Linked DNA regions of Homo sapiens: region 2 is linked to region 1. The links are contacts of gene promoters, found by promoter capture Hi-C in human tissues and cell types (Jung and others, 2019). All regions are on one chromosome and are shown on one strand. Each heading gives the region's core, a stretch centred on a gene start or on the middle of the fragment in contact. The rest is flanking DNA. Distances are from core to core; before and after follow the strand shown. Region 1 holds the start of EMC7 (ER membrane protein complex subunit 7). Region 2 overlaps GOLGA8B (golgin A8 family member B).

Region 1 (3,221 bases), core at 190-2,689:
TGAACAGCATCAGTGATTCATCAACTGCAATGTTTCTGTTTGGAGTATATACAGTGGAAAATTTATTTACAAGAAAGTCGAACACAGGTTTGATCTTCTGCAATGAAATCTGGGCCTTTGATTGACCAGCAGATATAGAAGAATTGTTGACAAAATGCAGGCACCGAAACAAAAGTAAAAATCTTTCACCAGTCATAATTTGCCTGAGATAAGGTGTATCCAAAAGAGGCCTTGTTGACCAAAACATCTCCAGCTCAGGTTTCTGCACAATACCTTGCAGTAACATTACTGCAAAAAAGACTTTGAGCTCGTCATTGTCAGTGTCTTTCCATTTATCCATTCGCGAAAATCCTTTCGGACCCGGTGGCTTTGAAGCCAACAAGGCAGCTTGGGCATTTGTTTCTCTAGTAATTTTTGAAACTAATTCCTCAGTAAAGAACAGTTCAAAATACTGCAATGGGTCAGTGATATCACTGACATCGACTTTTCTGCCAGGTGTGCCGGTAAAGTCATACCTTTGACGTGGAATCATAGCACGAGCTGACCATTTCATGGAGCGCCCTGAGTCACTTGATGTAGAGCTCTTTCCATCAGATTCTAAATGGGACAGAGGCCTGATCTTATCGGCTTCTAAAGCACTATCCGAAAAATTATCAGAATCATCTATTTCCGAAAAATCAGATTCATCAAATGAATCTTCAGCCAACAACTGTTCGAGACCGGTATTACTATCACGCATAGGAATGCTACGTTTTCTAGGATTTGACATTTCAGCGATCGAGAATTACTATATTTTGTAGATGGAAATCCCACTACTAAAAACAGAATGCTATAAACAGAATGATGTCTTTTGTTTCAAAAGTCAATATACCAGAACCATGCGAAAATAACAGAAGCGAGATATTTCGTGGCAAACTTTGGGAGTAAGGTTGGCACTGTAATCCACGAGTTATCTCGGCGTAAACGCTGCAGTCGCAGGCACAGCAGCGCGTAATCTCGGGGCTAAGGAGAAATGAGTTAAACGCACACAGACAGAAGAAGCCTTTCATCTCATACGTCTTGGGGAGTCTCTAGAAGTTTTTTGAAAGGTCTCTTCTGGATGGTGTTTCTCCCGAAGCCAGTCTCGTCATCTTTTACTCCCGTGAGGTCCTTGGCCTCCGTGGCTGCCGCAGCAACACACACTTGACTTTCACTTCATGGGCAGTCCCCTTCATAGGCACTTGACACAGGCTCTGTGCGCCGTCTTCCAATCCAGAGTGCCGGGAGTTAAGGGCAGTACTTCCGCCTTACTTCCGCCTCGCTAGTCGATCGGCCATGATCTCTTCCCTCTGGTTGGATCCCACAGCTTATGACAGAAACGGGCGCGCAGTGATGACAACATCAAGCCGCCAGCGGCGGCGGTGGCGGCCGGGAGACTGGGAGGGCTTCCGGGGCTGCCGGTCTGAGTGCAGAGCTGCTGTCATGGCGGCCGCTCTGTGGGGCTTCTTTCCCGTCCTGCTGCTGCTGCTGCTATCGGGGGATGTCCAGAGCTCGGAGGTGCCCGGGGCTGCTGCTGAGGGATCGGGAGGGAGTGGGGTCGGCATAGGAGATCGCTTCAAGATTGAGGGGCGTGCAGTTGTTCCAGGGGTGAAGCCTCAGGACTGGATCTCGGCGGCCCGAGTGCTGGTAGACGGAGAAGAGCACGTCGGTTTCCTTAAGTGAGCATCCTGAGGGCAGCGGGAAAAAGGCTGGGATGGAGGCCGGACAGGGACCCCACCAGGAGAGTTAAGTGTCAGGACGGGACAACGTCGCTGTCTCAGACTGAAGGGGAGGGTGCCGCTAACGGTCTATGCCGGGAGACCTTGGGAGGCAGTCGGATGCTTTCCCTTTCCTGGTCCTGTACCTCTGGAATGAGCATGGCAGGCGCTCACCCCCTGCCATGGTCAGAGCATGGAGTCAGTTATTTCCAACCTTATTTTGGCCCCATGTGGGGACGATCATTCCTGGGCCCTGGGGACAGGTGGACCCTTATTAGTCTCTTGTTGGATTCTTTTATATCTCATCTGGTTTCCCTAGAACCTAGTCGTTTTTTGCATTCACTTCAGTCTTTTGGTAGCTTGTTATTATGTAGAAAGATGCGACACAAGTGGGAATTCTCAAAACCCAAAGGGCTTCTAGTGACGACATAGACTGGGAGGCTAATGTTACTGCTTCTAAAATTAATAGGCTCTGAAATCCCTAATCAAAGCACTTTTTTTTTCTTTTTTTTTTTGCTTGGGGGTGGGATCGTTGTTCTTTTTTACAGTTGAATTCATCGAGAGATTTGCTATATCACACTTGTCATTTATGTGAGACTAGGGTTCCTCTACATTGCTTTCTTGCTTCTGTCCTTTCATGCTATTAGTGGAAGTGGGTTTTCTGTCTATATTAAAAGACAGGATGAATTTGTTAGCACTAGTTTTGCAGCAGCCTGCTTTTGAAATGTCTAGGCACGCGTATGTTGTTTTAAATCTTTCCACCCTTACTTGGAGGTGAAACTGTAAACTGAAAGCAAATAATTAGGAAGTATTTCCTTTGGTGGGTTCGTACACCAGCAAATGGTATCTGAAAATCAGACAACTTAAATGTAGACATTTAAATCCAAATCTGATTTACATATTTGTTCAGATCATCTAAGTGCCCTTGAGTGGTTATTCAACCTCAGATTAATAAATAGTGACAAATTTACAACCAGTATTTTACTGCTGTCTGTCATTAAGAATCTGGCATTAGGGCATTCGTTAGAGTTTACCCTAATTAATGATGTTTTAATGATAAAGTTCTCATTAAGCTTTAGGAATAAGCCTTAATTGACCATTTGGCCACTCTTCTGTATACAGTTCTTTTAAAAAGCATTTAATTTCTGTTTAAAAATAGTATATTAGAAACAAAGTAGGAAAACAACCCTTAATGTTTCATTGTATCTTTCTTTTTATTTTTTTGAGACAAGGTCTTTTTCTGTTACTCAGCCTGGAGTGCAGTGGCGAGATCATAGTTCATGGCAGCTTCGAACTTCTGTACTCAAGTGATCCTCCTGTCTCAGCCTCCTCAGTAGATAGGACTACAGGCGGACACCATCATGTCCAGCTAATTTTTTAATTTTTTGTAGAGACAGGGTCTTGCTATGTTGCCCAGTGTGGTCTCAAACTCCTGGCCTCAAGTGATATTTCTGCCTCAGCCTGTCACATTTTTGGGATTATAGG
Region 2 (3,221 bases), core at 615-3,114, 480 kb before region 1:
TAAACTCTAAAGGGCTGTTTTAATGTAAGGTGGTGCATCTGTTGTTTTGTGTTTCAAGGATCAAAATTAAGAGAAAAAAATATGTGGTTGAGATACCTGCGTTGAGTGACTGTGGAAATATTTTCATCTCTAGTTGTCTGGAAACGGAAACACTCCAACATTTAAAGATGGTTTTCATGGCGAAACCACTGGAATGAAACACGCATCATCGGGCAATTCTGTGTGTTGAGTTCCATCCCTCTTTGTTTGTCATTTTAAATAATTTCCCTACAAATCCAGAAGGCAGGTCTTGTCTTAACTTCGCGACGAGGAGGCTGGGGACAGGTAGCTGAGCTATGGGTTGCCTAAGAGCACTCTGCTGTGACGGGGCAGTGCTGGCCTTTGAGCCTGAGCTGGAGAGAGTGTGAGGCCCATGTTTTCTCTCTGTCTCCTGCTGGGGCCCATTTTGTATCAGATTTGTTTTTAACGGGGTGGGCATGACTAGGACTTATGACCATTGGTGGGCAAGTACAGGGGCTAATTTTCAACACGTGCTGAGAGACTGATGGCTGGCATCGGAGAGTTATGGAAATGCCACAGATGACGTGAGCTCTTCACAGCGATGGGGAAAGGGCGTGGGAGCTTGCCCTCCAGGAAGGTGGCTAACATGGTTGGTGGGACACTAAGGTGTTTTCCATTTTGCACTTGAAGCCAACATGGATTCTTAGCACTTCTTGTCCCTAGAATCAACTGTGCAGAGAGACGCTTGGTTGTGAAACTCTCAGGCAAAGACAGTTCTGAGGAAACTTACTAGTAAATAGTGAGTCAGAGAACACTACTGACATTTAGGATTTTCAGTTGAGATACATATGTACTGTCATGCATCACATGACATTGTTTTTGTGAGTGATAGCGTATATGACAGAGGTCCCATAAGAATATCATGGGGCTCAAAAATTCCTATTGCCTAGTGACATTGTCGTAAAGTTGTAGTGCAGTTACTTTATTTTTTAAAAAAATGTAGCCTAACTGTACAATGTTTATAAAGTCTGCACTAGTGTACAGACTGACTCACCGGAGCAACTTCCATTCATGGAAGGTCCATTCATAGAAAGTGCCCTAGACAGGGGCACCATGTTTTATCTTTTATAGCATATTTTAACTTTGTGCCTTTTCTATGTTTAGATACACACCTTCAGCACAGTAACATGCTGCCTAGGTTTGCAGCCTAGGAGCAGTAGGCTGTACCCTATAACCTAGTGTGTTGTAGTAGGTTTGTATAATGTATGCTCTATGATGTTCTCATAATGATGAAATTGCCTAATGATAAATTTCTCAGAATACATCCCTGTCATTAAGTGACGCATCTGTGTGTGTGTGTGTGTGTGTGTGTGTGTGTGTGTGTGTGTGTGTGTGTGTGTATGATATATAATTTTTTTCATTTGGTTGGTTTGGCATTCCTGGAATTGATTCTCCAGCAAGGCAGCTCTAAATATGGATTCCTCTGAACTGTTGTATGTGTTCTTAATTTAATAAACAAGTATCGTTTATGGTTTCCCGCAGTTGGTTTGATTATCAGCTGTCTTGGAAAAATCTATTGTTTCAAAAATAGTAAAGCCACTAGTTGAGTAACCGCATGCATTTAGGGATGATGGATTTCTCAGGTCTCTCTGGAAGCAAGTGTGTGCATTGTGCAATTAAAACACAGTTTCTGTTTCTCAGTCTTTTGGTGTAATAAGTGAGCCATGTGCTCTAGCATCTGTCTGAATTATCCGGAGCTGGTGGCAGCTGTCACGGGTGTGGTGCAGTGGGGCCAGGCATGTGTTAGGAACTGGAAGCTCTGGGAAGCCAGGCTCTGCCTGCACGTGTGAGCCAGCTGTAGAGCGTCACTGCTCAGAGTTTGTCTTGACTCATCCCAAGAAGGGCACGTGGAGGTCTGTGTCCCATTCCTCACCAGCCACTGAGTTATTATGGATGGAGGAGATGAGATGTGTGCAACTGTTCTGCTACAGGAAAGCAGTCAGTCAGTGCAGTCACCAGGGTTAGGATGTGTGAGTGTTTTACCAACCTGCCTGCTGGGTTTCAGACACTTGGCACTACCTCCAGCCTCTAACTGATTCTGGCTGGTACGCGTGAAAGCTGTCAGCTGAGTGATGAATGGACCGATTTTGGCCACAGGTCCCTGCACTTCCCACCTGGCCTGACTGCTAGATTCTGAGCCCCTGAGGCAGGACTGAATGGGTCACATTGATGGTTGATTCTCTCGGGAATGGCATTGGGTGAAATCGAGGTTTTCCTGACCCACAGCTCCTACTAGAAGTGCCTTTCTTTTGTGCATGTATTGTGAAGATTCTGCCTGTGAACTTTCTCTACCCTTTGAGTCCTAAGGTTCAGGTACCTGGAGAGGAGCATGTCATCGTTTTGCAGGTGGGATGTGTGGTTGTTGGGGAAGACGTCTTTGTGCTGTGTTGGGTTGGAAGCTTTGAGAGCAGAAGCCCCTCCAGACCAAGAACTCCTGATTGTGTCTTTCCCTTGGGCTTTCGCAGTTTTCAGCTTCTAAATTAATTGCATTTTATTAAGTAATGGTTTTCTTCTTGATCACAGGCGTGCCTGTGCTTAATCAGCACTGAGGACTGGTGCTACTTCAGTTGATTTGATACACCTAGAGGCAGCCTCATCTCCAACTTGTCTTGACTTCATTTGGGGAGCTGCCGTGGGGGACCCCTGGACTGGCAGCATTCCCACCCCTCACTTTGGCAACCCTGGCCTAACTCCTTGTATGTGTTGCTCCTTTTATCCATCACATAGGGTGGCTTAATCTAATAGTGGAAACAAAGGGGTGCGGGACGCTAACCTGGTAGGTCTCACCTTGCCCGTCCCGTCATTCACCTCTCAGTCCTTTGACACTCAGGGACTCTGCAGTGGTACAACCGGGAGCAGGTACCCTTCACTTTTCTTACCCCCGAGTCCCTTTGCCTGGAGCACTGTCCATCTATCCACCCATGCACTCAGTAGGTATTTTCCAAGCAGCTACTATATTCCAGCTTTCTTGTTCCCAGTTTAGAGCTGGGTGGGATCAGGAGGGAGGGCATGGAAGGGGTTGCTGGAGAATGTGCAATGGCATCAGAGCCCCATTCTGGCTCTGGGTCCAAGGCCCTCCTAGAGAGGCACAATCTGGAAGATGTGAGAGCCCCACGGTAGGTTGGGGTGGATCATGGACCCCATCCTAGAAGAGTGGGTGG

Evidence for each region. The method cuts DNA at HindIII sites, captures the fragments that hold promoters and counts their contacts. A contact is called where the count stands out against the background at its distance.
Region 2: a contact is called between a fragment that was not itself captured here and the fragment with the promoter of EMC7 in region 1, in 1 of the 25 tissues and cell types used here (lymphoblastoid cells).

The regions. Positions count from the first base shown.
Region 1 is chr15:34,100,080-34,103,300 of GRCh38, reverse strand. It overlaps EMC7 (ER membrane protein complex subunit 7), which reads left to right and starts at 1,439. Exons shown (of 5, transcript NM_020154.3): 1 at 1,439-1,697. The coding sequence starts at 1,462. It overlaps PGBD4 (piggyBac transposable element derived 4), which reads right to left and starts at 1,218. Exons shown (of 1, transcript NM_152595.5): 1 at 1-1,218. The coding sequence starts at 769. RefSeq lists enhancers at 1,009-1,098, 1,129-1,828, 1,438-2,295. The HindIII fragment of the contact is 11,801 bases long and covers 1-3,221 here.
Region 2 is chr15:34,575,687-34,578,907 of GRCh38, reverse strand. The region is part of intron 1 of GOLGA8B (golgin A8 family member B); the gene reads left to right. Among named protein-coding and RNA genes, the nearest start is that of GOLGA8B, 6.4 kb to the left of the region's middle. The HindIII fragment of the contact is 3,792 bases long and covers 1-3,221 here.